Regions from separate parts of the Homo sapiens genome. Here all the other regions are linked to region 1. Evidence: promoter capture Hi-C in 16 types of primary human blood cells and fetal thymus (Javierre and others, 2016). All regions are on one chromosome and are shown on one strand. The core of a region is centred on a gene start or on the middle of the fragment in contact, and the rest is flanking DNA. Distances in the headings are between cores, read along the strand shown. Region 1 holds the start of RABEP2 (rabaptin, RAB GTPase binding effector protein 2). Region 2 holds the start of RNF40 (ring finger protein 40). Region 3 holds the start of TBC1D10B (TBC1 domain family member 10B). Region 4 holds the start of C16orf92 (chromosome 16 open reading frame 92).

Region 1 (8,000 bases), core at 2,014-4,513:
TTGCCCAGGCTGGAGTACAGTAATGCGATCTCGGCTCACTGCAACATCTGCCTTCCAGGTTCAAGTGATTCTCCTGCCTCAGCCACCTGAGTAGCTGGGATTACAGGTGCGCACCACCACGCCCAGCTAATTTTTCTATTTTTAGTAGAGACAAGGTTTCACCATGTTGGCCAGGCTGGTCTTGAACTCCTGACCTCAGGTGATCCACCCAACTCAGCCTCCCAAAGTGCTGGGATTACAGGCATGAGCCACCGCATCTGGTCGAAATTTTCTTTTCTCTTCCCCCACATGCACTCTATCATCAAGGCCAGTCCATTTTATATCCTAAATATTGATGGAATCAATTTTCCCCTCTGAATCCTTCCTTCACAATCAGAAGCAATTCAACAGCCTCTCTCCTGGGCTCCCTGTCCCCTATATCTTTTGGTTCCCATCTACACTCCGCATGTCAAGAGAACTTCTTTGATGTTAGTCATGTGCTTCCCCTGTTCAATGGCCTTCAGTGGCTCCCAGGGCCTGCAGGATAAACTCAAACCTGAGAGCTGTCAGGAAGGCCCTCCCCAAACTGACTGGAGGCTGATTTCTAGTCATTATTTCAGCCCCTTCCCCAGAAACCCTGCTGCATGCACAGGGAGTCTGGATTTAATTTTTTTTTTTTTTTTTTAGACAGGGTCTTTCTCTCCCTCAGGCTGGAGTGCAGTGGCACAATCATGCTCACTGCAGCCTCAGCCTCCAGGGCTCAAGTAGATCTTCCCGCCTCAGCCTCTTGAGTAGCTTGGACTACAGATGCACATCACCATGCCCAGCTAATTTTTTTTTTTTTTTGAGACAGAGTCTTGCTCTGCTGCCCAGGCTGGAGTGTAATGGCATGATCTCAGCTCACTGCAACCTCTGCCTCCCGGGTTCAAGCAATTCTCCTGCCTCAGCCTCCCAAGTAGCTGGGACTATAGGCGCATGCCACCATGCCCGGCTAATTTTTTGTATTTTTAGTAGAGACAGGGTTTCACCATGTTAGCCAGGATGGTCTTGATCTCCTAACCTCGTGATCCGCCCTCCTCAGCCTCCCAAAGTGCTGGGATTACAGGCGTGAGCCACCGTGTCCGGCCATGCCCAGCTAATTTTTTAATTTTTTGTAGAGATGAGGTCTCACTATGTTGTTCAGGCTGGTCTCGAACCCCTGGGCTCAAGTGATCCTCCTGCCATTGGCCTCCTAAAGTGCTAGCATTATAGGCATAAGCCACCACACTCAGCCAGAGGTGGTTATTTTAGTTAGGGTGATCAGGGAAGGCCTCACTGAGGAGGTAACATTTGAGCCGAGACCTCAGCTCCAAGCTTGGTGGAAAACACTTGGTTTTATACTTGATGAAAAAGTAAGTGCGTGTTTAGTTTTGTTCAAAACTGCCATACTCTTTTTGCAGAGTGGCTATACCATTTCACATTCCCATCAACAAAATATGAGAAACCTAGTTTCTCCACATACTCACCAGCATTTGGTGTTAGCATTCTTATTTTAGCCATTCCAAGAAGTGCGTAGTGATGAAAGCAATTGTGGTTTTAATTTGTATTTCCCGAATAAATAGCTAATGATGTTTAACATCTTTTCATGCACATATTGCCACCTGTGACAGCAGTGAAATATCCGTTCATATCCTTTGTCCATTTTCTTTATTTCAAGTTCTGGGGTACATGTGCACGATGTGCAGGTTTGTTACACAGGGAAACATCTGCCATGGTAGTTTACCGCACCCATTAACCCATCACCTAGGTATCAAGCCCAGGATGCATTAGCTACTCTTGCTGATGCTCTCCCTCCCCCCTCCCAACACCCACCCCACAGGCCCCCATGTGTGTTGGTCCCCTCCCTGTGTCCATGTGTTCTCATTGTTCAGCTCCCACTTATAAGTGAGAACATGCATGTTTAGCTTTCTGTTGCTGCATTAATTTGCTGAGGATAATAGCTTCTAGCTTCATCCATGTCCCTGCAAAGGACATGATCTCGTTCCTTTTTATGGCTGTATAGTATTCCATGGTGTATATGTACCACATTTTCTTTATCCAGTCTATCATTGATGGGCATTTGGGTTGAGTCCATGTCTTTGCTATTTTGAATAGTGCTTCAATGAACATACTCGTGCATGTATCTTTGTAATAGAATGATTTATATTCCTTTAGGTATATACCCAGTAATGGGATTTCTGGGTCAAATGGTATTTCTGGTTCTAGGTCTTTGAGGAATCACCACACTGTCTTCCACAATGGTTGAACTAATTTACATTCCCACCAACAGTGTAAAAGCGTTCTACCTTTGGCCATTTTCAAACTGCATTATCTGTTTTACAAAAATCGCTCCAGCTGCTTTACGGAGAATTAATTAATTAAAGGGTGGAGTCGACACTGCGGAAGTTCAGGAGAAGTGATGGGAGCTGGGACGGAGTGTTAGCGCTGGAGATGGAGAAAAAGGGGCACATTCTGGAATAGTCAGCACATTGGAAGTAGAGTTTACGGGACTTGCAGGAGGACACGTAGAATCAAGGACTTCCAGGTTCCTGGCGTGTCCTTTACAGAGGGAAAAAAGGTTTGAGGGAAGGGGAACCAAGGCTCTGGACATAAATCTGAATTGCCTGTCACCGTCCGGGTGGAGGTCACAGATAAAGAGCCTGATCTAGACACAGGCGGAGAGGAGAGGAGGGATTTGAGGGCGTTGGGAGGAGGAAAGGGGGGCCAGCAGGAAGCGGTGACTGGCTGAGTAACAAAATGGGGGTGGGGACGTGCAAGTTTCAGACTCCGACTAACTACGCGGGGACTCCGAGGCGCTCAGAAAAATGAAGCCGACCCGGCCCTGCCCCGAGGGACGCTCCAAGAGGGCGGAGGTGCAGGGAGGGCCCCGCCACAATTCGCGGTAACGCAAGCCAGGCTCGGGCGGAAGGGCGGCCGGAGCCGATCAAAGGCTGGCTCCGGGCAGGGGCAGCGAGGGAGCGAGGGGGAGCTCTCCGCAGGCCGGTGTCCCGGAGGAGGCATAATTGGAGCAGGGCTTCCAAGGTCACGGAGAGACGCCGGGCAAGACCTCTTAAGGATCCTCTTCCGGGCTTGAAAGGCAGGCGTCCTCCCGAACCGCGCGACCCAGCCAAGAAGAGCCGGGGCGGGGCCGGGGCCGGGGCCGGGGGCCGACTCGGGAATCTTCGGCCGAGGCTCGGCAATCCCCCCATCCTCCGTCCGGGGCCTCCAGCCCGGGGCCGATCCGGAAACAGCCGAGCGGATCCGGAAACAGCCGAGAGGACCCGGAAGCGGTGCGCTCCGTCACCAGGGAGTGCGGGAATCCGCCGTTTGCGCTGAGGCAATGGCGGCAGCTGCGCCGGTGGCCGCGGACGACGATGAGCGGCGGCGGCGGCCGGGGGCTGGTACGTGAGGGGGCGTCCGTGCAAGCGGGGAACGGTGATGCTGGGGGCGGGGCCGAGCCAGCCACCTGCGGATGGGGGGTGGAGAGGGATGATGGAGGAAGGGGCGGGGCCACGCCGTCGGGAAAGGGGGCGGGGCCTACAGCCACAGGCAAAAGGGGGCGTGGCCCGGCCATTGAAGGGGTAGGGCCAGTGACAGGTGCGAAGTGGGGCCCGGTGAGGAAGGGGCGCGGCCACTAGGAGGGCGGGGCCAGGTGGGACCGAAGAGAGGACTGAGTGAAACTGGCCACCGCGAAGAGATGGAGTGTAGGCAGCACCCGGCAGAGCGAGTGGGAAGGGGGCGGGGCAGGGGCGGGGCCAGGTGAGCCGGGCGGGCCCAGGTGAAGGAGGCCCCAGATGAAGGCAACAGTACTAGGTTGCAGGACTTGCTAAGCCGGTAGGTGGCCTGGGGTAAGAGATGGGAAGAGAGGCTGATCCCTGTCCCCCACAGCACTGGAGGACTCCCGGTCCCAGGAAGGGGCAAATGGTGAGGCCGAGTCAGGTGAGCTCAGCCGGCTTCGGGCTGAGCTGGCAGGCGCCCTGGCAGAAATGGAAACCATGAAGGCTGTGGCAGAGGTGAGCGAGAGCACGAAGGCCGAGGCTGTGGCTGCGGTGCAGCGGCAGTGCCAAGAGGAGGTGGCCTCGCTGCAGGCCATCCTGAAAGGTGAGACGCGGGACTCACCTAGACTCCCCATCAACCCCATACTGGGGAGTGCATGACGAGAAAGGGATTGGGGGCACAGATAAGCTATGGGATAGGTTAGCAGGGCTGCCTGGCACAGGGCATGCCTATGGCCCAGAGGAAGGGCCGCCCTTTTAAAATTTGCATAGAGGCCCTCCATGTGATAGCAGCAGCTCTGTCAGTTATAGCTAAGTTTAGCTCCCAGCTTCTATCTGTTGCCTTGTCCCATGTCATTTCTTGTCCCTCACTGATGATTGATCAACCCTGAAGATGGGCGAGAAACTTCTCAGTTCCCCAAACCAACCTCATTTTAGTCTGGACTTCTGGGAAATAGAATCAGCCCTGGCCCAGTCTCTGTGAGTCTAATGCTCTGCTCTCTAGCCTTCCCCAGACACTCCCCCCTCCACCCCACGCCATGCACCAGCTTCCCCACCTCCGCCCCACGTTCTTTGTACTTGGTCCTCTGGCCCCAGACGCCCCAGCTGCTGATCCTGTTTTCTACTCTCCTTCCTCTAGCAGAAGCCAGAGACTCTGAAACAGATGTCAGAGCTGCCCCCGCTGCTATGCCCCTGCTGCGGTGGGGCTCTCGTCAACTCTCTCCTGGACTTTTGTCCCAACCTTCTCACAGATCTTCCTCTATAGTGTGGCCTTGACATTGGCTTCCAGAGTAAACTTCCTAAAATTCCCTTCCCAACATGCGATTTCCCTTTCTAACAGCTGCTGGTGGCTGGAGACTTCTCTGGGGCTGTATTTCCCACATTTCAGGATCCACCTGCCTGTGCAATGTAGACACATCCTTGTACAACTTACTGTGCTGTTTACTTAATATTTGTTCTTTAAATAGATCCACATTTTAAAAGTTTACATACATTTATTAAGGGAAACTTGTTATATCTACTATATAAGAAAAGCCAGGTGTGTCCTAAATAATAACAATAGCTAGCTTTTTTTTTTTTTCTTGAGTCAATAAGAGTTTCACTCTGTCGCCCAAGCTGGAGTGCGTCACAGCACGCTGGTGTGATCTCAGCTCACTGCAACCTCCACCTCCTGGGCTCAAGCAGATCCTCCTACCTCAGCCTCCCAAGTAGCCAAGACTACAGGTGCATGCCACCATGCCTGGCTAATTTTTAGTATTTTTTTGTAGAAACAGGGTCTCTCTATGTTACCCAGACAGGTCTTGAACTCCTGAGCTCAAACGATCTGCCTGCCTTGGCCTCCCAAAGTGCTGGGATTACAGGTGTGAGCCACCGCGCCTGGCCAGGTAGCATGTTTTGAGCACTCACTATGTGCCAGGCACTGAGCTAAATGCTTTATGAGTAACTAATCTTCATAACAAACTCTGTGAGGCAGGAACTATTACCCATCTCCATTTTACAGAGGAAGCTCTGAGGCCCGGAGAGGTTAAATAACTTGCCCAAGGTCATATAGCTGGAAAACAGCCAAAGGTTGGAAACCAAGCAGCCTAACAGCTGAACCTATTTTTTTTTTTTTCTGAGACAGTGTCTCACTGTTACCCAGACTGGAGTTCAGTGGTGCAGTCTCAGCTCACTGCAACCTCCACCTCCCGGGTTCAAGCGATTCTCCTTCCTCAGCCTCCCAAGTAGCTGGGACTACAGGCGTGTGCCACCACACGTGGCTAATTTTTTTTTTCTTTTCTTTTGAGATGGAGTCTTACTCTGTCGCCCAGGCTGGAGTACAGTGGTGTGATCTTGGCTTACTGCAAGCTCCACCTCCCGGGTTCATGCTATTCTCCTGCCTCAGCCTCCCAACCAGCTGGGACTACAGGTGCTCGCCACCACGCCTGACTAATTTTTTTTTTTAATTTTTAGTAGAGACGGGGTTTCACTGTGTTAGCCAGGATGGTCTCGATCTCCTGACCTCGTGATCTGCCTGCCTCGACCTCCCAGAGTGCTGGGATTAGAGGGGTGACCCACCACGCCCGGCCCCATTTTTTGTATTTTTAGTAGAGATGGGGTTTCACCGTGTTAGCCAGGATAGTCTCGATCTCCTGACCTTGTGATCCGCCCACCTCGGCCTCCCAAAGTGCTGGAATTAGAGGCGTGAGCCAGCACGCCCGGCCCAGCTGAACCTTTACTTCTACTGTTAGTGCACAATAATAGGTCAATATCTATACAAACAAAAAATGACCACGTTCTACCAAAAATCAAACAAGTCCATGTTACTCAGGTGGGAGGATCAGTTGAGGTCAGGAGTTTGAGACCAGCCTGGGCACCAAAGTGAGACCCTTAGCTGGGTATGGTGGCAAGTGCCTGTGGTCCCTGCTACTTGGGAGGGTGAGGTGGGAGGTTCACTTGAGCCCAAGAGTTTAAGGCTGCAGTGAACTATGATTGCACCACTGCACTCCAGCCTGGGTGACAGAGGGAGACCCTGACTCTCTTTTTTTTGTTTTTTTGTTTTTTGAGACGGAGTCCCGCTCAGTCACCCAGGCTGAAGTGCGGTGGCACAATCTCGGTTCACTGCAACCTCCGCCTCCTGGGTTCAAACAATTCTCCTGCCTCAGCCTCCCAAGTAGCTGGGATTACAGGCGCCCACCACCATGCCTGGTTAAATTTTGTGTTTTCAGTAGAGACAAGGTTTCACTATGTTGGCCAGGCTGGTCTCGAACTCCTGACCTAGATGATCTGCCCACCTCGGCCTCCCAAAGTGCTGGGATTACAGGTATGAGCCACAGCGCCCGAACCTGACTCCCTTAAAAAAAAAAAAAAAAAAAAAAAAATCTATGTTCTATCCAACATCACCTCCATCTCCTGCTGACCTGTAGAATAAGTTCCAAACCTCTTGGCGTCACATTCAAGGCCCTGGGAGCCACCCACTGCCTCCTTTCCAGTGTCTCTCCTTGGGCGCCTTCACTGTTCCAGTCCCTCCAACATATTCCACCATGCCACAGCCACGCCAGCTGCTCTTCCGCTGCTCACACTGGTCCTGTTAACTCATGCATCTTTCCCTCCTTCACTGTCTACCACTGTCCTCTCCTGCCTGGCCAGGCAGGCAGAGTGAGGGCTCCTTCCTCTGGGATATCCAAGCCCAGGAAGGGTCCTCTCCTGTACCTCTTCCCATACTGCATCCTAACTATTGCCACAGCCGCCCTCTTCATTGGACTGTGAGCTCCCGGTGGCAGGCTTTGTGTTTGATTAATTTCTGTATTTCCAGAGCCCAGCTCAGAGTCTGATCCAGCGTAAATATTTATTACTACGATTAAGGGCCGGGTGTGGTGGCTCATGCCTGTAATCCCAGCACTTTGGGAGGCTGAGACGGGAGGATTGCTTGAGCTCAGGAGTTCAAGACCAGCCTGGGCAACATGGTGAGACCCCGTCTCTACAAAAAATACAAAAATTAGCCAGGCATGCTAGTTTGTGCCTGTAGTCCCAGCTACTCGGGGCACTGAGGTGGGAGGATTGCTTGAGCCCAGGAGGCTGAGGTTGCAGTGAGTCATGATTGCGACACTGCACTTCAGCCTGGGCAACAGAGTGAGACCCTTTCTCAAAAATTAAAAAAACAGAGGCCTGTGGTGGGGTGGGGGGAGAGGGGAGGGATAGCATTAGGAGATATACCTAATGTAAATGACGAGTTAATGGGTGTAGCTCACCAACATGGCACATGTATACATATGTAACAAACCTGCATGTTGTGCACATGTACCCTAGAACTTAAAGTAAAATTAAACAAACAAAAAAAAAGGGCTGGGAGCAGTGGCTCACGCCTATAATCCCAGCACTTTGGGAGGCCAAGGCGGGCGGATCGCTTGAGGTCAGGAGTTCAAGACCAGCCTGGCCAGCATGGCAAAACCCCGTCTCTACTAAAAATAGAAAAATTAGCCAGGGGTGGTGGTGGGCGCCTGTAATCCCAGCTACACAGGACGCTGA
Region 2 (8,000 bases), core at 3,983-6,482, 1.8 Mb before region 1:
GGATTACAGACATGAATCACCACACCTGGCCTAGGTTTTTTCTTTTTTTTTTTTATACATCCAATTCCCTTTAATAGAGAAGGTAACTGTAACATTCACAAAAGTTAGTTAACTTCTTCTAGATTCTTAAATATCACCTTCCCAGTACATTTCCCTGGCCTCCTATTCAAAATTGCAACACCCTTTCTCCTGATACTTCCTATCTTCCTTTTCTGCTTTACTTTCCTATCTGTCAAGAGCTAACACATTTTCCATTTTTCTTCTACTAGTTCGTCTTCCTCTAGTCTGTCTTCTATCAGAATGTTGCTCCACATGGCAGGAATTCTGTTTTGTTCACTGGCATAACCCCAAACCCTAGAACAGAGCCTGGCTCAGAGGTGGCATTTGATAAATCTTTGTAACACAAGTATCTGAGAGACAGAGACGTCATCAGACCAGAAGAATGAGGACAGGGCTGACAGCTCAGACTCTGCATGTGCCTGCTCCATCAGCCACCCCAGCTGGCGGACCCTCACTGTGCCTGGGAGCCAAGCAGTGCAGGCCCTGTTTTGCATAGGAAGCCGAGGCTCTGTGAAAAAAAAGGCCTTAGCCTCTTGCATCTGGATAAGCAGCAGCCCCACACCAGGGCCCAGCACTCCCAGATAAGGCCCCACCTCCGCCCTATCCTCACCACATACCCGCCTGCTCGTTGGCCGCCAGATTCTGCTCAAACTCGATGCGCAGCATCTCATACTCCTTGCGTACCTGGGCCAGCGTGTCCTCCAGCTGAATGACCTCTGTGCGTAGCTTCTTCTGCAGCCCCAGCTCGTCGCTCTGTGGGTTGATGTGTTAAGGACCCACACAGCCCCTCGGTCCCACCTCAGGACTCAGTATCTTAGGAAGAATCTATTCCCCAGGGACCCCTGGCTGGCACACAGGGCCTCGGAAGGCACAAACACGTCAACACTAACGGTTTGGCCCTTAGCCCAGCCCTAACGCCTGTTCCAGGGCCATACCTCCATGTGCTCGATGTGTCGCAGGTGGGAGTTCTTTGTGGCCAGCAGCAGGCCCCGAGCCTCGTCTAGCTGGGTCTTCACTTGCAGAGACTCGTTGTAGAGCAGTGAGAATTGGGCCTGCAGCATGCGGTACTCCCCCGTCTCCCGCACTACCTCCTCAGGAAGGCTCCGCAGGGCCACCTGGGGCAGGGATGCCCAAATGGGATCAGCAACAGGATTCAGGGCTCAGTCCCTCCCTTACAGGCCCAGGACCTCTCAGCCCCTACAGCAGCCCACCTTGAGGCGCTCATTGGTCCGCACAGCCCCCTGAAGTTCGGCCTGCAGTTTCTCCAGCTCTGCCATACGGCTGTTGGCCAGTTCCTGGTTTTCCTCTAACTCTGCATTCAGCATCTCAAACTAAGGAGTGGGAGGCAGGGCCATGGGAGGCAGGGCCAGACGTGGCAGCAGGCCTCCCTTACATCCCCAGCATACACTCCACCCCAAGCACCCCGTGCAGGGCAATGATCGATTCTGACACCCCAAACCAAGTACTTTCCTAAGGGCTCCCAGAAAAATGGGAGAAAATTCAATACTGCATGGTCGGTGCTGGGAACTAAGGCTCTTAACTGATGGGGAGTCACGGAAGGCATTCCAGAAAGGCCTAAAGTGCTAATAAAGGGAAAAAGGGCACAGTGACCACCAGATGCCAACTGACTCCAACTCACTCTTAGCTCTCTCTTCTGTGCTTTATCTTTGTGGTACTCATAACACACTGATATGCTATTTTACTGATTTCTTGTCTGTTACCACAAGTAGAACCTAAAGATATATTCTTTTATTTATTTCTTGTCTGGTCCATGAAAGTTTTGACCTCTATTTTGTTCTCGCCAATATGCCTAGTGCCTAGCACTAAGTGTTCAAAAATCTACTCAACAAGTATATGAATGCATGAAAAAAAGAGCAGCAGGAGTGACCAGGAAGGGCCTCAGAGATGGATGTTTGTCCTTTGTCCTGAGGGGAATTTCAAGAGTGCAACAGAGAAGAGGTTGTGAGAAGGGGTGGGAGGAAAACGCCGCTCACCTTCTGCATGCTGAGTGTGATCTGGCCCCCCTGGAAGCCTGAGGAGCTCCCAGATACATAGTAGCCAGAGTTAAGCTGTGGAGAGAAAACAGACAGGCAATGGATGTAGAGGGGAGGAGCTAAGGCCCAAGGGCCCAGCCTTGCCTCACCTGCCCCAGCACCCCTGCCCCACCTGCTCTAAGGCCTCTGCCAGGTGCTTATTGAGCTTTTGCTCTCGCTTCCGCAGCTTCTCGATGTCCCACTGCAAGTCCTCCACTGTTGTCTCCATCTCCAGCACCTTGGTCTCTGCCGATGTCACTTTATCCTGGAGCTCGGAGTACTGGGAACAATGAGGGAGCAGATGCTTGGATGGGGGACTTGGTTCCTGAGGTCCCTGAGTGCCCATCTAACCCAAATCCTGCCTGATTCTAATCACACCCCCAAAGCCCCCGGCTCCTCACCTCCAATGAGATGCGGTGGTGTTTCTCCTGCAGCTGAGTGGCCAAGTCCTGCAGTCGCCGGTTCTCACGGCCCAGCTCTCGGGTGTGTGCCTGAGCCGCCTCACTGAGGGGCTCACTGTCCCCTGGGAAGGCAGGGCCCAGGTAAGAGCCCAGCTCAGGGCAATGGGGCAAACAACTAACTCATTCTGGAGTCTGCTATATACCCAGTGTGATCCACCAGCTGTCTTGCCCATTTCTCATGACAAAGCCAGGAGTCTTTATCCCCACTGCACAGAGAAGGAAACCAGCTCAGAGAGGGGAGCCACTTTCCCAGCATGTCCAGGTGAGGGTGGCAGAACTAAGGTGGGAGAAGCCTGTCAACCTACAAGGCCTGAGCCCTTGAAGCTATGCCTTGTGGATCCGCAACCCACACCAAGTGCTCCAGAGGGGCCTCTGGCCAGGAGCCTCTACCGGCATCAACAACTCCTCCAACCCATCTCTCTAGCATTCAATCCCGGAATCAAAGTTGGAACCCCCATCTACAGCCTAACCTACCTCTTCCAAGAACATGGCTGATTTATTCCTTGGGAAATTCTGGCCGCCCTTGGACTCGGGCATTAGGGGAATCAGGAAGGGGTGCCATCAAGATGCAGGTGGGGATGGACACCCCTTCAGTATGGGCACAAAGAACCCACCTCGGCTGTACACTCGCTGACAGAGTTCCTCCACCCGGCGCTGTAGGCGGTCTGAGGCCTCTACCACACGAGACACAGCTGCCTTGGAGAACTCCATTCGGCCTTGCAGCTCCAGCTCCACCTCCTCACTGCTGCTGGCACCCAGTGCCACCACAAAAGCCAAGGCCGGCTCACTGAGAGGGGGCCGCAGCTGCATCAGCAAGGGGTCTGGAAGGAATGGACAGACCCTCATGAGGATAAGAGCAGCAGTTACTACCACTCTGTACCAAGTTCCAGACTGAGCCCTTCAATACTCATGGTTCACTTAATCAACACAACCTATAGTGCACTATTATCTCCATCCTGAAAGTGAGACAAATGAAATTCAGGGAGGTAAAGTAATTTCCTCAAAGCTACAGAGTTGCGTATCACATCCTCAGGGAAGCTTCCTGTACTTTACCAATATAATTAGAATCACACGCACATGCATGCACACACAATCATTCCGTTTCAGGAGCCCCAGTACTTTCTGCTTACTATGTTTATAATTTCCTCCCTTATAGCAAGTGCAACACTCATTTCTAGGAAGCGTCAAATACATATTTAATACTCAACCATAATACTGTTTTGAAACAAATGGGTGTCAAAACATGAATTGCTCTATAAACCAAGTTAGTCAGAGTCTAAAGCCTGTGTTTTTGTGCACTGCACTTTACTGCCCAAACATGAAATCCATTTCGTGAGAAGTAGTAAGATAGGCAATTCAGGGGCCCAACACCAAAGTCCCCTCCTCCCCAGGACTTCTCCCAGAACTTAAGCTCCCCAGATCCCAGCACTCTGGTCCTACCTCTCAGCTCTGATGTCCCCGGCTCTGGGAGAGGAGTCCCATCACATGTTGGCCCCTCCTGGGTCCCAGGTGCCTCAGGCGCTGAAGACAGCTCCCCCTGGCTCTCATGGCATCGGAGAAGGGCTTCCACAGTTTCATCCAGCTGGAAGGAGAAAACATCAAAAATGTTATGAATCCCTTAGTGCTTTCCAACATGATACTCCTTTCCTAGCAGGGGAATCTGGGGATTGGCAGCTGAATCAAGGCCTGGTCTTTGAAAGCAGAAGGTATCCACCTGGGCCCAGTAGCGATTGACGATGAGGAGTGTGGCATCATCTGTGGCCTGCCGCTTCTCCAACTTCTCAATTCGTTCTCGGAGTTCATCTTCACAAGCCTGCCGTTGTTCCAGCCGCTCTGCCAGTTTCTTGTTCTTGAACTGTAGTACCTTCAGGTCCATCTCCTCCTACCAAAGGAAACAAAGGGGCCGACGAGAGCGTCAAGCAGGGCCCACAAACCAATCACAGAGAGAGAAAGAGGAGCAGAGCATCTGCAATGCATGGGAGATGGAGGTATTCCCACACTAACCGCTAACAGAATCTAAGGAGGCTCAGACAACACACAGCGAAAGTGTCTTTGTTGTGAGGAGGCTCACGTTGTTTCTGCCTGTCCCCTTGTAAATCCTTAGTCTTTGACAAGTCACACGCCCCCTGGAAACCTGTTTTCCTATCTGTAAAGGGAAGACAGGCGTCGTGTTCTGAGCTTCTTTCTAACCTTTCTTTCAAGGTCCTGTAACGCGGACCTTGCTAAACTTGGGGAAGTGGGTGTAAGATTCCGCACAGTTTGGCCAGAGAACAGAGGGAGGGCTCTGGGAAGTTCTGAGGGTTAAGGCAAGAGCCCACGAACCGTGGAAGAGATGCCTCCAAGACGAATGGGCTCGATAAGAGTCGTGGTGGTCTTCTCCTCACGACTCAGCTTCTTTTCCGGGGGCCCTGAGCCCCCGTCGCCGGCGGCGCGTTTGTTGCCTGGCCCAGACATGGCCGCGGCGGCTGGAGCGATGCAGGGTCCCCTGAGGGGCGTCAAACGGGAGGAGGCGGTACTTCCGTCACCTGCAGAAGACACAGAGCAGAGATGTGGGAACGGCTGGTGTTCCACAGCCCCAAACACCCTCCACCCTGCACACACCTGCTGGATCCCGTCCCCCCCGGCGCCAGAGCCCTCACCAGCAGGAGGGTCAGCCTAGCGCCGCCATCTTGGATTTCACCGGACGTCACTGGGCGTCACTGGACGCCACTGCCCCCCCCCCAACGGTGCGCAGGGCGCAGGCGCCAAAGGCAGCCCCGGATGTGAGGAAACTTCTTTATCTTCTGCTTCTATTGGTTACGCTTGGTCCCGCCACTCGGGTCCTCTGGCTTCTTCCCAAACACCTCCTCTTTCTCTCGGTGATTGGCCAAGAGGCAGTTCCCATAGTAACTGACACCGCGCTCCCACTTCCCAGCCTGGAGGACAGCACCGGCCCTCGTATTAGCAACCTGGAAGAGAGGGCGCCCAGGTGGGCACTCGCAACTTCTCACGTATCTGCGCGTTCTCTTCGCTCCCACTGGCGTGAGCCTGCGCTTTCCGCCTTCCTTCCCTCACAAGCCCCCTTGGCAACCGTCGCCGTTGAGACGGAGGGAGACGCCCCCACGGATTCGCCCCGCCGCGCCTCTCCGCGCGTAGATTGGCCGGAGCGAGGCGAACGGGCCCGGCCTTGGTAGCCGCCGACCGAGCGCTGGCTGTCCTGGAACCTAGGCGGCGGGAGCCCGGGGCGCCTCGCGGCACGGAAGAGCGGCGAGATGCTCAACCGCAAGACCAGCCACTTTTTGGGAATGAGGGTGCAGTCGGAGCTTGAACATCTCTCCGAGCTGCGGCGGGAAGCGGGGAAGGATCGCAGCTCAGTGCATGGGTCGGCCGCGCGGACGCGTGCGAGTGTGCGGACTCAGTGGACGACGGCGGCGGCGGCGAAAGCGGATGAAGACCCCGGAGCCAACTTGTTTCCGGTGAGGGCGGGACAGTCTGGTCTGCTCGTGAATATTTATAAACCGGCTCCCCCGCAGGCGCCACCTGTCATTATGCTTACTAACGTTCGGGACGTCTCCCGGGCTGCTTGGGCGAGGAGAGGCAGGGGTGTGTGACCCCGGTGGTTACTGTGCTCGCGTAGAGCACCTAGGGCCTGCTGAAGCCCTCCCTCGCCCGCGCCTCTCCTTAGTCCTTGAGATGAGATGGCAAGTTACAGCGGCTTCTCCGGCCTGCTGGAGATTCGCTACGGGCCAGGACACCGCAGCTGCCTTCCCCAATTCGCTTTCTTTCCGCAGCCGCCGCTGCCCCGACCCCGGATCTGCATGTGGTGAGTGTGAAGAGACAAAAATTACACTGAATATTTGCGTTCTTTATTGTCTCCCCAACAGTCCTGTCTGTGGCCAGGGCATCCCCATTTTACAGATGAGACTGAGGCCTGGAGATGCAATTACTCCAGGTGACTGGAAGTTGGCTTTCCAGCCTCTCCAGTCCAAAGAGGAGGCAGTGTGAGAAAAAAAGAGCCAAAGACAGAATGTAAATGGAGTCTCATGGCCGCTAAGGAGTATTGTACAGAGGGGGACACTGAGGGCCACAGGGAGTACTTGACCAAGGTCATACAAGGTAGTGGCAGAGCAGAAAAAAGAATTCAAGATTCCTAACCCTAGGCTTTAGAAATGGAGAGGCTCATAAGAGTTCATTTAGGCCCAGAGAGTTAACGATTTGCATAGTCACACAGCAAGCTGGCAAAAGAGCCCAGCTTCACGCCGGTGGCCAACTCCCAGTCTCACGCACTAGCTGTCACAGCCTTGTCATGATAGGTAACGGCCACCAATACTCTTTTTCTTTTACTATAACAGGAAGTACCTGGACGTCCATTCCATGCACCAGCTGGAGAAGACCACCAATGCTGAGATGAGGGAGTAGGGACTGAGGGGGGCGTGGGAAGAGCTCTTGGCAAAGGCTGAGGGGTCAGGTTGGGAAAACATGAGGAATGGCTGACTCCAAAGCATGTGGTGGGTGTAGGGTGATGAAAGGAGGCCCAGTTGTCACTCACTCCTCTCTCCCTCCCAAGGGTGCTGGCTGAGCTGCTGGAGCTAGGGTGTCCTGAGCAGAGCCTGAGGGACGCCATCACCCTGGACCTCTTCTGCCACGCGCTCATTTTCTGCCGCCAGCAGGGCTTCTCACTGGAGCAGACGTCAGCGGCTTGTGCCCTGCTCCAGGATCTTCACAAGGCTTGTATTGGTGAGAGGGGGCAGCTACCAGGTTTGAGCCCCAGGGAGAAGAGGAACCGGGCCTGGCACAAGTGACCATGGGAAGCAGAAGCAGGGGATTTCTGCCTGGAATATGTCATTATTAGTAGCATCATCATACACAAGCCATCAGCTTTCCAATCCACTGCTTCCTTATCTAGAAATTAAGGATACAGCACACATTTTACAGGACTGTTCTGAGAAATAATATATGCAAATATATGCATAGTGCACAATAACACCTGCTTTAGAATGTTTAATAGCTCTTGCTTCAGAATGTTTAATAGCTGAAATGATCTATTTCTTGGTTTATTCCCCTAGAATATAAGCTTCGTAAGGGCAGGACCTTGTCTGTCTTGTTCAGTGCCGAAAACCATACAGTGGGCATATAGTGGGTATTCAGTATTTGTTACATGAGTTAAGGAAACAAGCCAGTGCTGAAACCCAGATCTGTCTGCTTCTGAAGCTCATGGTCATAAACAGCTGTTGAGTGAAGTGAATGAATGGATACCAGAGAGGGCCTCACTGCTGCATCTTGCTTTCCCTACCAGCAACCCCCTTGGGCAACGTGGAGGAGTGCTACCGCTACTTCACCAGTGTCCTTTTTTGCCATGGAGTCAGGGTCAGTTCCCCTGGAACATTCTGGAAACTTTACCCATCCCCAGACAAGGTCTCACCCAGTCTCTCTCACATTCATCACCCTTATCTTCTTGTGAAGACCC
Region 3 (8,000 bases), core at 3,934-6,433, 1.4 Mb before region 1:
TGCTGAGGGGGCTTGCTTTGATTGCATTCCCCAAATTCCCGTCTGTGGCTCCTGGGTCTCCAACTCTCCATCCCCCACAATGGGTGGAAGCTTCCTTATCTTCTCAGTGTCCTGAGCCTAGCTCCTCTGAGCCTCAGACTTGCTGTGTGACCCCAGCCACTCATTTGCCCTGTTTGAGCCTCTACTTTTCTTTTCTTTTTTTTTTTTTTTTTGAGACAGAGTCTTGCTCTGTCACCCAGGCTGGAGTGCGGTGCTGCGATCTCGGCTTACCGCAACCTCTGCCTCCCGGGTTCAAGCGATTCTTATGCCCCAGCCTCCGTAGTAGCTGGGATTACAGGCATGCACCACCACGCCCAGTTAATTTTTGTATTTTTAGTAGAGACGGGGTTTCGCCTGTTGGCCAGGCTGGTCTCGAACTCCTGGCTTCAAGTGATCCAACCACCTTGGCCTCCCAAAGTGCTGGGATTACAGGCGTGAACCACAGCACCTGGCCTGAGCCTCTACTTTCTCATTTGTAAAATGGGATGGGAGTTATTGCCTGGCTGGTGCCAGAGGGCCTTAGGAAGATGGAGTACAGGAATGAATGGATCAGGCTTTGAGAGGGACTGGGCCCCTGTGAGTTGAATGTCTGGGCGGATTATCATTGATTGGATCCTTTAGGCCATCACACAGTCTGTTTTCCATCAGTGATGCCGAGAAAGAGATGAGCATCCTTTTAACTTTTTGTTGGACTGGGAACCAGCTACTTTCTTTCAAAGGGTGAGGCTGCCCTGAGGTCTAAGGGATCTGGGCAGGGGTTGGAGGATTCTCACTCACCATGTCTTCAGTCTCCGGGGGGCAAGGCAGCGGCTCCGGCTGGAAAGAAGCAAGGAGTCAGCATGGGGCAGTCCCTCTGGGGTTATATAGTCCTGCCCCAGGGAGCCCTTAACATACCAAGGTAACCTTAGCCCTGCGGGTGCCCACCCCAGATACCAAAATAGCCCAACTCAGGGCCTCTCCTTTCTTGGAGGGCTGGCAGCAGCTGGAGCCCAGCGGGGAGGAAGGGGGGAGCATGTCTTGCGATGCATGTCTCACTAGGGCCTGGGCAAGAAGAGATGTTCTTTCTCCCAAAGAGGGGCTGGAATGTGCCAGAGTTTAGAGGGGACGCAACCCAAGGCATCATTCTGGGAGATAAATGAACCAGATCCTGTACCCCTGAGTGGGGTGGGCTCAGATTTAAACCCAGTAAACGTCTGGGTGCAGTGGTTCACACCTGTAATCCCAGCACTTTGGGAAGCTGAGGCAGGAGGATTGCTTGAGGCCAGGAGTTCAGGACCAGCCTGGGCAACATAGTGAGACCCCTGTCTCCCTTTTTTTTTTTTTTAGACAGTCTCGCTCTGTCTCCCAGGCTAGAGTGCCAGTAGTGTGATCTCGGTTCACTGCAACCTCCACCTCCCCTGTTCAAGTGATTCTCCTATCTTGGCCTCCCGAGTAGCTGGGATTATAGGTGTGCCACGAAGCCAGGCTAATTTTTTTTTTCTGTATTTTTAGTAGAGACAGGGTTTCACCGTGTCGGCCAGAGTGGTCTCAATCTTCTGACCTGGTGATCCATCCACCTAGGCCTCCCAAAGTGCTGGGATTACAGGTGTGAGCCACTGCGCCTGGCCCCCGTCTCTATTTTAAATTAATAAAATAAACCCAGTAAACATGTATTGAACACACACAGTGTGCCACGTGCTAGGCTGGGCTTTGTGGATGTACTTTGGCAGACACAATCCCTCCACCCCCACATGGTGGAGTTCATAGTCAAGTGTGTGTAAGTGTGAGGGTGGTGAGAAAGAGCCATCTGTGGAAGCTGAGGGATCAGGTGGGTCTCCTACCTCCCTTCAAGGAGAGGGGAATTTTTTTTTCTTTTCTTTCTTTTTTTTTTTTTTTGAGATGGAGTCTTGCTCTTGTCACCCAGGTGGGAGTGCAATGGTGCGATCTCGGCTTACTGCAACCTCCGCCTTCTGGGTTCAAGCGATACTTCTGCCTCAGCCTCCTGAGTAGCTGGGATTCCAGGCACCCGCCACCATGCCCAGCTACTTTTTTTTTTTTTTTTTGAGATGAAGTCTCGTTTTGTTATCCGGGCTGGAGTGCAGTGGCGTGATCTTGGCTCACTGTAACCTCCGCCTCCCGGGTTCAAGTGATTCTCCTGCTTCAGCCTCCCGAGTAGCTGGGACTACAGGCGCGTGTCACCACGCCCGCCTAATTTTTTTGTATTTTTAGTAGAGACGGGGTTTCCCCGCGTTAGCCAGGATGATCTCGATCTCCTGACCTTGTGATCTGCCTGCCTCGGCCTCCCAAAGTGCTGGGATTACAGGCGTGAGCCACCGTGCCCGGCATCTAATTTTTTGTATTTTTAGTAGAGATGGCGTTTCACCATGTTGGCCAGGCTGGTCTTGAATTCCGACTTCAGATGATCCACCCGTCTCGACCTCCCAAAGTGCTCAAAGTGCTGGGATTACAGGCATGAGCCACCGCGCCGAGCCAAGAGGGATTTTTTGAGGCAAGATGCTTTGTGGTCTCAGGTTTTGTGCTGGGCCTTGGTTTCCCCTCTGTAAAAGGGAGATGTAGTTCCCATCCCACAGAACTTGCCTTATAACTAATAGAGACAGGAATGAATGCAGAAACTGACATACCAGAGCTGGTCAGGAGCCCAGAAGTGGAGGGCGCAGCAGCCCTGTCTAGGAGTATGGGAGTGGCTTCACGAGGGCCAGGGAGTCAGGTGCAGGTGGAGGAGCAGATGTGCTGGGCGGAGGGCATGGCCTGAGCAAAGGCCTGGAGAGCGGAAGATCAGAAGTGTTCAGGTGGCCAGAATTGTGATGGGGCTGGTGACCAGCCCCTGAGGGGCCTTTGCCAGGCACAGGACGGAGACCCTGGGGAACCTTGGAAAGGTTTCATGCAGAAGAAGGATGTGATCTAGTATGAGTCTAGAATATTTTCTCTGGGTACTGGTGTGGAGGCTGGAACTCAAGAGGGGAGGAAAAGACCCTAAAAGGACAGCCAGCTGGTCACTTTCTGTGAGGTGCCTTGATAGCCAGTGGCAGCTCACTTTATTCTGGCCAAGAGCCAGCTTGGCTGATTGTGTGACTTTGATGTACCCTCTCTTCTCCCTCTGGGCCTCAGTGACCCAGTCCCCTCCATGCAGCAGAAGTCTGGAAAAATAGTGGCTGAGGAAGCCCCAAGTTGGCAAGGACAACCATCTCCTTCTCCTCCCGCTCCCTCTAGGACCCGATGTCCTGAGGAAGATGCCTCCCCCTGCCCTGTCCCCCCTCCTCCAGGCCCATGCCGATACCTCTAAGACATTTTCTTTTCTGGGCACTGAGGCCCCAGCCACCTGTTGTCTCTAAGAAGAGAGAAGGAGCCACCCTAAACTTAGCAGCTGCCCTTAGCCTCCCACACCAGCCCCTCCCTGCCTCAGACAGCAGCTGCCTCGCCTTATAGGGTTACCACGGGGGTCCAGGCCAGGGAGGAGCCCACTTATTACTGGGTTCTGGGAGAGGAGGAGGACTCCAAAAAGGGGAATGGGAGGAGAGCTCAGGAAGCTTGGGTCAAACGGGAGATGGGAAAGGTGAGGAGAAGGAGATCAGACACTGAGTGGGAATTGACAGGACATGGGGCTGAGTTGGGAGTGAGGGACCTTAGAGGACTCAGAAACCAAGGAGGAGCTGAGAAGTCGGGAGCTAGGTCTCACTGGAATTCCAGGATGGTGGATGCTATATGGAAATCAGAATATGGGGGTCAGAGAAAGAAGAGGGCGTTTAGAAGTTGGAAGGTTGGAGCTCATAACGTCAGGTCTTTATGCTTGTGATCTAAGGACAACCTGGAGCGCTCATGAGATTGAGGTCGGGATTCTCAGTGGAACATGAGGAGCACAGAGGGATGTGGCAGTGAGGGGAGAGGGGTTGACGGGACTGGGGCCTTGGATCCCCAAAAGAATAGTAACACACATATGGGGAGTTCATGGTATTAGGGATTCATGGATTTGGGGTTTGAGATCCCCACTAGAAGAAATGGAGGGGGTACTCAGAGGGATAAGGTCTGAGGAACTGGAGCCTGGGTTCTGGGGAGGAGCTCAGATAGATGGGAACTGAGGAGAGGGACTTGGAGGTTGGGATTCCCGCAGGAAATGGGTGAAGCAGAGATATGGGTTGCTTATAGGATCTGGGGGCTCTGGCTATTGCCACCTGGGCCTGGAGTGTTGGGGTTAGTTGGGGGCCGAGATCGGAGAATTATAGAGTAAAGGATGAGAGTACTGGGTCAGGGCACTGGATCTGTGGTGGGGCTCAGGGTCCCACAGACCACCAGAGTGTGGGGCTCAGGAGCTGAACGAAGAATAGGGGACCGGAAAGGACTCGAGAGGGGGCAGCGCGGCACTCATTGGTTGAGGGCTGCACTAATGCCCCCGCCCCTTCTCCGTGCTGTCCCCAGCTGTCACCCTCCCATAAGGCTTGTCTCCGGTTGTCACCGACTATCCCTGGGCTGGCACCGCCTGCTGGCAGCATCTTTGCCCTTTGGATGCTCCCATTGGCTGAGACAGCTATCTATTTTCCTGTCCTGTGGCCAAAGTGGGAGAACACGATCATTGGCTGACGGGGCGAATTAATCTCTAGCTTGCCCCGCCTCCTCCCAGCTGTCATTCCTTACTGACCATTTTGGGAGACCTAAAGAATTCTTCAGCTCTTCCTATTGACTGCGGATGCTGTCTGTCACCGCCTAAATAGACATCACTGCCTGTCAATTTGACCTCCACCTGCTCCCCTTTTCATTGGCTCCCTTTTTACCATTCCTATTGGTTAAGAAGCCTCCAGGCCCCACCTCTTACTCGCACAGCCCTGCCTCCTCCTCCGCCCTTCCGCGGTCATTCACCCTTCAGTCATATTCATTGGCCAGGAGGTTCAGACCCCTGCGTTTCTATTGGTTATTTCTTTCGTCCCATCGCCCCCTGCCTTTCCTCGTCCTCTGATTGGTCTTACAGCCCTAGCTTTCTCCGTTTCCTCTTTCCAGATGACCCACCCCTTTTTCGCCTCCAGCCCCGCCCACGATTCCAACGATTGGCAGAAGCCCAGTTCTCTCTCTCCCACTATTCGTCCAAATCCTCTGACTAGGCGGGAGAAAAAAGGAGCGCGATGAGCCAGTCCGCGCGCAGGCGTGGAACGCCGAGACGCTGGCGCGGAGCCGGCTCTGCGGCGTGTGCGCAGGCGCGAGGTCGGCGGCTCGCCCCCAAGCAGGAGGGAGGGGGCGGTGGCGAGAGCGCGCGAGGGGGTGAGAGGGCTCGAGAGAGACCCCGGCGCGCGGCGCCCCCCGACCCCTGCCCCGCCTCTGCGCGCCCAGCGGCCGCTCCGCCCCCGGCGCGCGCCGAGCCGCGCCCTTCGCCCTCTCCCCTTTCTCGGCTGGCCTCGCCGGGAGGCCCGAGGGGCGGCGCCTTCTGCGGCCTCCCCGGCGGGGGGATGTGAGGGGCGGCCCGCGGCCATGGAGACGGGCACGGCGCCCCTGGTGGCCCCGCCGCGCCGTCATGGCGCCCCCGCGGCCCCCTCGCCGCCGCCCCGGGGTTCCCGGGCCGGGCCCGTCGTGGTGGTGGCTCCGGGACCTCCAGTGACTACGGCCACTTCGGCCCCCGTCACCCTGGTGGCCCCCGGGGAGGCGCGGCCCGCCTGGGTCCCGGGGTCGGCCGAGACCTCTGCTCCGGCCCCGGCCCCAGCCCCGGCCCCAGCCCCGGCTGTCACGGGCAGCACGGTGGTGGTGCTGACCCTGGAGGCCTCGCCCGAAGCCCCAAAGCCGCAGCTCCCCTCCGGCCCGGAATCCCCAGAGCCCGCGGCAGTGGCTGGAGTTGAGACATCGAGGGCTCTGGCCGCAGGGGCAGACTCGCCGAAGACAGAGGAGGCTCGACCCTCACCCGCCCCAGGACCAGGGACCCCCACCGGGACCCCTACCAGGACCCCTTCCAGAACGGCTCCTGGTGCCCTGACCGCCAAACCCCCGCTTGCCCCCAAGCCGGGAACCACAGTGGCCTCAGGAGTGACTGCACGGAGTGCATCAGGACAAGTGACAGGTGGGCATGGAGCTGCCGCAGCAACATCAGCATCAGCAGGACAGGCTCCTGAGGACCCCTCAGGCCCTGGCACAGGCCCCTCTGGGACTTGTGAGGCTCCGGTAGCTGTCGTGACCGTGACCCCAGCTCCGGAGCCTGCTGAAAACTCTCAAGACCTGGGCTCCACGTCCAGCCTGGGACCTGGCATCTCTGGGCCTCGAGGGCAGGCCCCGGACACGCTGAGTTACTTGGACTCCGTGAGCCTCATGTCTGGGACCTTGGAGTCCTTGGCGGATGATGTGAGCTCCATGGGCTCAGATTCAGAGATAAACGGGCTGGCCCTGCGCAAGACGGACAAGTATGGCTTCCTTGGGGGCAGCCAGTACTCGGGCAGCCTGTGAGTACCAGTGGGCACCCAGCGGGACCGCCTCGGGGAAGCAAAGGTTGGGGGAGGGCGAAACGAAAACGATACACTTTGCCCAGACTCTGGCAGCCCAGCCTCCTCTGAGGATCCACGGGGTGATCAGCGCGAGCTGCCGTGTCTTGAGCATCCTGAGGTGCCTGTGACATTGGCATGTTAGTGGAGTTTCAGACCAGGGGTCAAGAGGTCTGGGTTTAAGCCTTGCCTTTGATGGGTTGTGTGCCCTTGAGCTAGTGGCTTCCCCATTTCCGTGCCTCAGTTTTTTCCTCTATAAAGTGGATTGAATGAGATGATACCTGAGGTCATCCCTGCTCTTTGATGGGGAACTCCAGCTACAGGCCGGATATTCTGGAGGGTTGGTTGGGCGAGGGTTCTGGTAGAGACCCTTGGTCCCTTAGGGTGGATAGCCTGGGAGGGGTGCAGGCATCTCCCTTCCCCCATAGCCCTAGGTCCCAGGGATGGAGTAGAGAGGTGGGGAAGTCTGGCTGATGGAAGGGAGACTGTGCAGTCAGGATCCCGCTGTGAAACAGGGCAGTCTTGTATCTGCACTGAAGTAAAGGGTGGGAGAGGCCTCTTCCCCATTTCCTCATCTCCCCAGCCGGGCTGACTCTTTCCTAGTTCTCTCCGGGGCCTGAGTCACTCCCGAGGTAGGGGGTGATTGCCTCTGACTTCTTCCTTCCCCCTCTCTGGATCCTGCCCGTTGTTCCTGTGCCCCTTTGACCTGCTGGGCCAGTCAGCCTACAGCATCTCCTGGGCCCCCAGGTGTCAGGCCCCAGGTGCTAAGGATAAAATAGTCCTTTCAAGGAGCCAATCATCTGGAGAGAAAGAAAAGTACTTAAACAGTTGGTTTCAATAGAAGACCTCGGGTTTAGCCTAGAGATCTCCAGAGGGTTTCCTGAGGCACCTAGAGCAGGGAGTCAGCTGAACCTGCTCTGAATCGTGGAGAGTAAGTAGGATTGATTTAGTCTTGGCTATGTGTGCAGGGATCGGGGGAAGCCCTGTGGGAGAGTTTTCCAGGCAGGGTTCATGAGCCAACCAAAATCAGAAAGCCTTTGATTGGGTACCAACATTCAGGGTCTTACATGGGAAAGCAACTGAGGTTTGACCCTGGTGCTTTCTAGGCACAAGGACTCGGTTTATAGATGAAGAAACAATTAGTGCAGTTGAGTGAATTGTCCCCCTCAAATAATCTGGATCTGTGTGACCAGTGGCTCTCTCCTCAATAGCAGGCTGTCCTGAGGAACTCGGGCTGAACTTAGTTTGGGGGAGTCCCTCTTGTGTGCCAGGCACTATGCCGGGTGCTGTTTCTTTGCTTTGTAGCTTTGTCCCTGTAAGATCAGCTTCAATGCCAGAGAACTCTACCTCTTGGGCAAGACTGACTGTAATCCATGTTACTTTCGCAGCGTTCAGTGGCTCGCTGCTGTCCACAGGATGAAGTTCAGGCTCTTTGGCCTGCGCATAGCCTCTCTGGTCACCTTTGCCACCATTCCTCACCGGGTGCTTTGCGCTGTGGTCCTGCTGAACTAG
Region 4 (8,000 bases), core at 3,495-5,994, 1.1 Mb before region 1:
TCAGGCTCCCCATCCTCAGAGGCCTCAGCCCCAACTTCTCCACAGCCTCCTCCACGTGCCTCATGTTTGGTGATGGCTTCTGGCTGACTCTGCTTTCATCCCTCCACCCCTTGTGGGGCGAGCACCCCAGGTCCTGCCTCTCTGACCTCCTGCCCCCACCCCAGGCCAGTCTTGGGACTACAGGATTTAAGAGAAACTGCCAATGTGCTGACTCCAGAAGAAAAATGCTGTCTTGTCTATTCATCCATTTCTCGTTTTTGTTTACTCTCCAAGTACATGGAACTTTCTTTGTCCTTGGCTCCTTTTGCTCTGCATTTTCCCCTTAACGCTTGGCTGTCCCTGAAAAACAACACAAAATAGACAAGAGATTGGGTGACTTTGGGGCAGGGCGAACAGCGCTGACAAGACCTCTCACTTGCCAACAGGGTCTGTCTCTGATGCCTCTCGGATCTTCTGGGGATGGTGGGGATGACAGTGAGGGCTGTGGAGCCACACCGCCCATGTCCCTTCCTTGGCCAGGTTACCTAGCCCCTCTGTGACTCACTTCTTCACCTGTACAGTGGGGATGATGGCCACACCTACCTTTTACAGGGTTTTGGGAGGGGTAAATAAGGCTATGCATGGGAAGTTTGGAAGATCGCCTGTCCCAGGAGGCAGGAATGGGCGTCCACCCCTGTGACCTCTCTCTCCAGCACTCTCGCCCCTTCAGCTGTTGCTGGTCCTAACCTCATGGTAAGGTTAGGACAAATAACCATGGCAAGGTCCCACCTGCCTGTCCTGGGCTTATTTTGGCACTGTATCTGTGCCTTTTGGTCTGTGGGCATCTTCTGGTCTTTTCTTTTCCCCCGACTATACTGCAGAGAGAGAGGAACATGGGTGAGTTCTGAGACCACAGGTTTGAATCCCAGCACCATCTCTTACTAGCTGCATGACTGTGTGACCTTGGGCAAGTTTCTCACCCTCTACCCTCTGGATCCCTCATCTGTACCCAAGACTCCGCTCCTGTCCAGGGCTGCTGTGCTGACCCCTGAGATCTGACCCCAATCACTGGTGTCCCCTTTCCTCCTTGCTCCCCCACCCCGTCTCTCTGCCCAACAGACACTGGCTGTCCTCTGCCTACACGCAATTTGCTGTGCCCTACTTCATCTACGACATCTACGCCATGTTCCTCTGTCACTGGCACAAGCACCAGGTCAAAGGGCATGGAGGGGACGACGGAGCGGCCAGAGCCCCGGGCAGCACGTGGGCCATAGCGCGTGGCTACCTGCACAAGGAGTTCCTCATGGTGCTCCACCATGCCGCCATGGTGCTGGTGTGCTTCCCACTCTCAGTGGTGAGTCCCGGGGAGCTGGGCGGGCGGGGTGCGGGTGGCCTGCTCCTTGGTCCTGCTGGTGCTGGCAGGAGCCTGGGAAGCCCCGGGTCTGCGTACTGACAACCAAGCAGACCCAGCGTATTCCCAGGGAAAGCTGTGGACAGGCAGGGTTCACTGAGCACCAGCCCAGGGCACCAGGGTGTGGGGGCAGCCTGGCCCTGGGCTGGACGATGCCCGGCTGTGGCTCTTTGGATTTGTGGTTGCACGTCTCTGAGCCTCAGTTTCCTCACCTGTTACATAAGGGACACAGTCTTTCTGCAGGACCGTGAGAGGGATGCAGCCAAGTCATGCACCTGCTCCTGCACCCAGGTGTTCTTTCTCTTTTTTTTCTTTCCAAGACGGAGTCTCTCTCTGTCACTCAGGCTGGAGTGCAGTGGTGTGATCTCGGCTCACTGAAACCTCCGCCTCCTGAGTTCAAGTGATTCTCCCATCTCAGCCTCCCCAGTAGCTGGGATTACAGGTGCCCACCAACACGCCTGGCTAATTTTTTTGGTATTTTTAGTACAGACGGGGTTTCACCATGTTGGCCAGGCTGGTCTCAAACTCCTGACCTCGTGATCCACCTGCCTCAGCCTCCCAAAGTGCTGGGATTACCGGCGTGAGCCACTGCACCCAGCCCTGCACCCAGGTGTTCTGATGTTCAGAGTCAAGCATCTCCCAAAGTGACAGAGGGGAAAGAGGAAGGGCGGGGGCTGCCCAAGAACCCAGGGAGAGCCCCAGCTCCTCACCTTCCTGCCTCTGTGCCCAGGTGTGGCGACAGGGTAAGGGAGACTTCTTTCTGGGTTGCATGTTGATGGCAGAGGTCAGCACGCCCTTCGTCTGCCTTGGCAAGATCCTCATCCAGGTGAGTGAGCATGGGAGGGTGCAGGAGCCCAATGGGGAGGTCACAGGAAGGGGAGGGACCTTCAAGGTTGCTGCCAAGGGCTCTAGCCCCTTCGTCATCCCCCCCTCACCCCGTGCATTTTGAGCACCTGGTGCTTGTGTCCTGGCAAAGTGTCTGGTTTGGGAGGAGCTGCCTGCTAGGGTCGCAGGGAGGCAGGGAGAGGGCCAAGGGGGGCCGAGCCCTTCTGCTGCCGTGGCCACTGTGTCTGTGTCTCCTCAGTACAAGCAGCAGCACACACTGCTGCACAAGGTGAACGGGGCCCTGATGCTGCTCAGCTTCCTCTGCTGCCGGGTGCTGCTCTTTCCCTACCTGTACTGGGCCTACGGGCGCCATGCCGGCCTGCCCCTGCTGGCCGTGCCCCTGGCCATCCCTGCCCACGTCAACCTGGGCGCTGCGCTGCTCCTGGCCCCTCAGCTCTACTGGTTCTTCCTCATCTGCCGTGGGGCCTGCCGCCTCTTCTGGCCCCGCTCCCGGCCGCCCCCGGCCTGCCAGGCCCAGGACTGAGGCCGGGGGCCGGGACCCTCCCCCTCCCCACCCCCACCCCCGTGGAGACAGGGCTCTGGGGCTGATGGCTGGGGTTGGGAGCCAGGGTCCTCTTGCCCGGACAACCCCAGGACTGACGATGACCCCGAAAGGGAAGAGGCCCCATCTCTCGGGGACTGAGGGGGTGGAGAGAGGGGACCTCTTCCCCCTACTCTGCCCCCTTCCTGCACACCCTTGCGCTGGAGGAGGGGAGGGGGCACCGCCTCCCACCCACTGAGGGCAGGAGGGCTTGTGGGGAGGGACACCAACAGGGTTTCAAGGGGACCAGGAGTCAGAATGTGGGGAGACGCCTCTGCCAAGGCCATCCCAGCCCCTATGCTGCCATCCCCCAGGGCTCCCCATCACCCGAGAGGAGAGGACGCCCCAACTAACCCCCGCTGGCCCTCGGGCCTCCCGAGTGGCCGGCTGCAACCACGGCTCCTCTCCAGGGTAGGCCAGCTTGAGGAATCTTATTTATTTTATTTATTTACCCAAATTTGAACTAGTCTGTTGGGTTGGGGGAAGGAGGTGGCTGCTACCCCCAAGCCTTCCCAGTGCTGACAACCCCGGGGGCAGGCGAGGGCGCCCAGTCCCTCACCATCGGCTGCACATCGCGCCCTCGGGCCCTGCCATGTCCCTGGTGCTACTGACCTCTCAAGGCTTCCTCCAATCTGGGGTCGGGGGACCCTGGGAGGTGCTTTACAGACCGCTAATAAAAGACGATCTGCGTGAACGCCACCAAGGCCCTTGCCACCAAGTTCTTTGGGGCTGGGAAGGGAGGAGGTGGGGGGCTTGGGCCATGGGAAACAGAGGGGACAGGATCCCCAGCTGCTCGCTGGGCAGTCAGGGAGGAGGAAAGCAGGGAACTTTTGCTCATCAACAGGAGAGGAGGTGGGTGTGGGTGCTCAGGTTGAGTCCAGAGCCCTTGTCCGGCTCTTTAGGCCCCTTTCTGGAAGTTTCTGTGGGGCATGGAGATCAGAGGGGAGAGGTCACAGCCTGCCCCGCTAGAACTGGGGTCTTCAGCCGCTCCCAAGGAAGGTGGTGGTGGGTGGGGTTGGAGAAAGGGGGCAGGCCTTACATGTGGGTGCAGAACTGGAAAAGGAGAAAGAAGAACGCCACCACCAGCAAGCCCACCAGGATGTGATGGAAGAGCCCGGGGCTGGAACCTGCTAGACAAACAGGACCCTTAACTCCCCTCTGATGGCCCAATGAAGGGTCTGGGGCTGCTCTCCTCCAGACCCTGGCGGGGAGGGAGGTCCCTTCTCAAGCTGGTTCATACCTGAGTTAATGAACACGATGGGTTTCTCTCCAATAAACTGGGCCACAGCCAGCAGCCTGGCTTGGTCTGAGTCCGGATAATCGAAGAAGTCAGGTCTGTCTAAGAAGCGCGGAGACTCTGTCCCCAGGGCTGACGCCGTGGCACGCTTGGGTCTGGGTGCTAGGACCCAAGCAAACTCTGTGACAACAGCCAAGCTGACCCCTGCCTTTATCTCTCGAGGCGGAAGCTGACTTGGGACCCTGTGAGACCACCCAGCCTTATTGCAGAGGCTGTGGAGGGTCTTGATTTCCCTCAGGGTCAGCTGGGTGCACCACGACAAGGCTCGCGGTTGTTGGGGGGTAGGTGGGACCAGCAGGATGGGAGAGAAGAGTGGAGAGAAAATGAGAGGGTGCAGGGTTGGCTTCCGAGTCCCTAAGTGGGCATCACACTTTATGCTCCCAGAGCTGCCTGCCTTCCTGCTGCTCCCAAGACAGCTTCTTACCAGTTTCTATGGCCCCTAGTGCAGCCAGCCACACCCACACCAGCACCCATGGCCACAGCCTCATGACTCCTATCATGAGGTGGGGGCTCTGTGATGTCACAGCCCAGAGCTGTTCTGATGGCACTTTGGGGTGAGGGGAGAAAGTGCTAGGAGCTGGGACCCCTCCCCCATCCCTCACTCTCATCAGAAGAGGAGAGGAGAAGAGAGGTTGGGACCAGTCTTCACCCCCTGGAATGTCGCTGATGATAAAACCATAATGGTGGCAGCCCCAGCATTTACAAAGAGGAGGGATGCGGCACGGCCATCTTGCTGAAAGCCCGAACTAAAGGAAGCTGTGTTTGGACAACAGGCACAATTTGGGGTGGTGGCACAGGGCCACACACCTCCGGTTACCCCTTGGATCAACCACAGGTAACATTTGTTTTATTTATTTTCATTTTTTTGGAGACAGGGTCTCTGTCTGTCACCCAGGTGGGAATGCAGTGGCGCCATCTTGGCTCTCTACAGCCTCTGCCTCCTGGGTTCAAGTGATTCTCTTGCCTCAGCCTCCTGAGTATCTGGGATTACAGCTTTGGATAAATCCCTTCCTTTTATCTGTCTGCCACCACACCCGGCTAATTTTTGTATTTTTAGTAGAGACAGGGTTTCACTATGTTGGTCAGGCTGGTCTTGAACTCCTCACCTCAGGTGATCTGTTCGCCTCGGCCTCCCAAAGCGCCCGGCCTATTTTATGTATTTTCAGAGACAGGGTCTCACTCTGTCACCCAGGCTGGAGTACAGTGGTATGATTACTGCAGCCTTGAACTCCTGGCCTCAAGTGATCCTCCCACATCAGCCTCCTGAGTAGCTGGGACCACAGGCATGTGCCACCATGCCCGGCTAATTTTTGCATTTTTTGTAGAAATGAGGGCTTGCTATGTTGCCCAGGCTGGTTTCGAACTTCTGGCCTCAGGTGATCCTCCAGCTTCGGCCTCCCAAAGTGCTGGGATTACAGGCATGAGCCACCATGCCCAGCAGGTAGCATTTATTGAACACCTATTACTATGCTGGCTGGACCCCATTTATGGCCAAGTACCTTGCACAAATTTGTTCATTTGCTCTTGCACTGACCCTCAGAGGCAGGTACTCTTTTTTTTTTTTTTTTTTTTTTTTTTTTTTGAGATGGAGTTTCACTCTGTCCGCCAGGCTGGAGTGCAGACGCACAATCTCAGCTCACTGCAACCTCCACCTCCTGGGTTCAAGCGATTCTCCTGCCTCAGCCTCCTGGAGTGGGATTACAGGCGCGCACCATCACTGTTCGGCTGATTTTTGTACTTTTAGTAGAGATGGGGTTTCACCATGTTGGCCAGGCTGGTCTTGAACTCCTGAACTCGGATGATCCGCCTGCCTCGGCCTCCCAAAGTGTTGGGATTACAGGCGTGAGCCACCAAGCCCAGCCCAGAGGCAGGTACTCTTGCCTCCCTTATACACGGGAGGAAATCACGGCACAGAGGGGAAAAGTAGTGTGGGCAATGCACACTTCCTGGGGGGGGGGTTCCTCTCTGAGGCTCCCCCTTGCATCCTATCCGCAGATCCAGGGGCACAGGGCTCTCTCCGTCCTCCCCCGCCCCCTCCTTAGTGCTCAGCCGGGAACGACCCTGGGGTTAGGAACCGAGAGGAGTAGCAGGCGTCTCCCACTAGGTGGCAGCAGCGGCCGCGCCTGAGTCCACGCTCCCACCCTAGGAAAGGCGCAGCGGGGCGGACTCCCGGGCCTCCTCCCGCCTCTTCCACAGGTTGCATCCGCGGCTGCAGGAAAACGGATGGCTGGGAATGGCCGTCGGGGGTTGGTCAGAGGAAGTCCCTCGGCCCTTTCCGAGGCACATCTCTTGGCCATCCACGCGTCCTTCGCAGACTCCGCTCCCTGCACCTCCGTTTCCTCTTCTGTGGCCGGCGGCTCCCCCGTGGCCACCCCATCTCCCATCTCTGCCACCTCCCAACAGCCATTTCCACTCCTGCGGCCCCATCCCAGCTAAGGAGAGCGCCCTTCTGATTGGCAGGTGGGCCTGTCTGTCACGGGCATGTTCCATCCCACCCAAGCCCAAGGACACTCCAGGGTTTCCTTAGTTTCACAACGAAGGTGCGTGCTCAGCGGACTCTGCAGACCCAGTGCCGCGACTTCCCCTAAAGCCAGGCGTGTATCTGCGCGTGTGAGGTGCTCTGCCGCAACCCTATGCAGAGAGCAGGTGGGCTAGGACTCGGGGTACTTGCCATGAACCGCTTCGAGTTCCTAAACAAGTAAAAAGCCCAGAGAGAGAAAAAAAGGGGGCAGCGGGGCGGGGGTGGGGAAGGAGGGAAACGAATATCTATGGGACTGGCTCACGTGGGCTGCTTCCCCTGTGCTGCGCTGATGGCTTCCCTTTTTTTGAGACAGGATATTGCTCTATCTGTCACCCAGGCTGGAGTGCAGCCTCGACCTCCTGGGCTCAAGCGATCCTCTCACCTCAGCCTCCCAAGTAGCTGGGACCACAGGCGTGCACCACCACACCTGCCTATTTTTTGTTTTGTTTTGTTTTGTTTTTTAGATGGAGTCTCTGTCTGTTGCCCAGGCTGGAGTGCAGTGGCACGATCTTGGCTCACTGCAACCTCTGCCTCCTTGGTTCAAGCGATTCTCCTGCCTCAGCCTCCCGAGTAGCCAGGATCAAAAGCATATGCCACCATGCCTGGCTAATTTTTGTAGTTTTTTAAAGTAGAGACGGAATTTCATCATGTTGGCCAGTCTGGTCTCAAACTCCTGACCTCAAGTGATCTGCCCTCCGCGGCCTCCTAAAGTGCTGGGATTACAGGCGTGTGCGACTGCGCCCAGCCTACTTCTTTTTTTCTTTGCAGAGATGGAGTCTTGCTATGTTGCCCAGGCTGGTCTCAAACTCCTGGGCATAAGTGATTCTCCCACCCTGGCCTCCCAAAATGCTGGGATGACAGGTGTGAGCCGCCATGCAGATCACTTCTAAGAAAAAGGAAGGGATTTATCCAAAGCCACAAGGCATGTGAGAGGCAGCAGAAGGGACTCAGTAATGTGGTTTTTGGGCCAGGCGCGGTGCTCACACCTATGATCCCAGCACTTTGGGAGGCCAAGATGGGTGGATCACTTGAGGCCAGGAGTTCGAGACCAGCCTGCCCAACATGATGAAATCTCCTCTCTACTAAAAATCCAAAAAAAGGCTGGGCGCGGTGGCTCACACCTATAATCCCAGCACTTTGGGAGGCCGAGGCAAGTGGATCACCTGAGGTCAGGAGTTCAAGACCAGCCTGACCAATATGGTGAAACCACGTCTCTACTAAAAATACAAAAATAAGCCGGGTGCGGTAGCATGCGCCTGTAGCCCCAGCTACTCGGGAGGCTGAGACAGGAGAACTGCTTGAACACAAGAGGCAGAGGTTGCGGTGAGCCTAAATTGCGCCACTGCACTCCAGCCTGGGTGACAGG

The links. The method cuts DNA at HindIII sites, captures the fragments that hold promoters and counts their contacts. A CHiCAGO score of 5 or more calls a contact.
Region 2: the fragment with the promoter of RNF40 here is called in contact with the fragment with the promoter of RABEP2 in region 1 in 5 of 17 cell types (non-activated CD4 T cells, activated CD4 T cells, total B cells and 2 more); the score reaches 10.6 in non-activated CD4 T cells.
Region 3: the fragment with the promoter of TBC1D10B here is called in contact with the fragment with the promoter of RABEP2 in region 1 in 1 of 17 cell types (fetal thymus); the score reaches 8.6 in fetal thymus.
Region 4: a contact is called between the fragment with the promoter of C16orf92 here and the fragment with the promoter of RABEP2 in region 1, in 1 of 17 cell types (monocytes). The highest score is 5.0, in monocytes.

The regions. Positions count from the first base shown.
Region 1 is chr16:28,920,501-28,928,500 of GRCh38, reverse strand. It overlaps RABEP2 (rabaptin, RAB GTPase binding effector protein 2), which reads left to right and starts at 3,263. Exons shown (of 13, transcript NM_024816.3): 1 at 3,263-3,398; 2 at 3,886-4,098. The coding sequence starts at 3,338. RefSeq lists enhancers at 2,220-2,803, 3,782-4,011, 4,042-4,131 and silencers at 3,022-3,371, 3,402-3,621. The HindIII fragment of the contact is 8,433 bases long and covers 1,335-8,000 here.
Region 2 is chr16:30,759,554-30,767,553 of GRCh38, reverse strand. It overlaps RNF40 (ring finger protein 40), which reads right to left and starts at 5,232. Exons shown (of 20, transcript NM_014771.4): 1 at 5,194-5,232; 2 at 4,877-5,079; 3 at 4,269-4,436; 4 at 3,995-4,136; 5 at 3,169-3,375; 6 at 2,495-2,616; 7 at 2,227-2,373; 8 at 2,055-2,129; 9 at 1,272-1,391; 10 at 996-1,175; 11 at 678-813. The coding sequence starts at 5,008. PHKG2 (phosphorylase kinase catalytic subunit gamma 2) reads right to left here. Exons shown (of 10, transcript NM_000294.3): 10 at 6,378-8,000. It overlaps CFAP119 (cilia and flagella associated protein 119), which reads left to right and starts at 5,492. Exons shown (of 9, transcript NM_001014979.3): 1 at 5,492-6,009; 2 at 6,325-6,356; 3 at 6,886-6,948; 4 at 7,101-7,270; 5 at 7,830-7,900. The coding sequence starts at 5,806. RefSeq lists enhancers at 4,914-5,023, 5,144-5,403, 4,891-5,528, 5,484-5,663, 6,254-6,403 and 3 more and a silencer at 5,940-6,169. The HindIII fragment of the contact is 4,015 bases long and covers 3,595-7,609 here.
Region 3 is chr16:30,367,677-30,375,676 of GRCh38, reverse strand. TBC1D10B (TBC1 domain family member 10B) reads left to right here and starts at 5,183. Exons shown (of 9, transcript NM_015527.4): 1 at 5,183-6,449. The coding sequence starts at 5,494. It overlaps MYL11 (myosin light chain 11), which reads right to left and starts at 875. Exons shown (of 7, transcript NM_013292.5): 1 at 817-875. The coding sequence starts at 819. RefSeq lists silencers at 5,298-5,587, 5,678-5,757. The HindIII fragment of the contact is 4,560 bases long and covers 3,569-8,000 here.
Region 4 is chr16:30,019,942-30,027,941 of GRCh38, reverse strand. C16orf92 (chromosome 16 open reading frame 92) reads right to left here and starts at 4,744. Exons shown (of 4, transcript NM_001109659.2): 1 at 4,538-4,744; 2 at 4,057-4,215; 3 at 3,856-3,943; 4 at 3,238-3,736. The coding sequence starts at 4,601. The coding sequence ends at 3,715. TLCD3B (TLC domain containing 3B) reads left to right here. Exons shown (of 5, transcript NM_031478.6): 3 at 1,099-1,333; 4 at 2,121-2,216; 5 at 2,475-3,515. The coding sequence ends at 2,759. It also overlaps a transcript of DOC2A not described here. The HindIII fragment of the contact is 16,537 bases long and covers 1-8,000 here.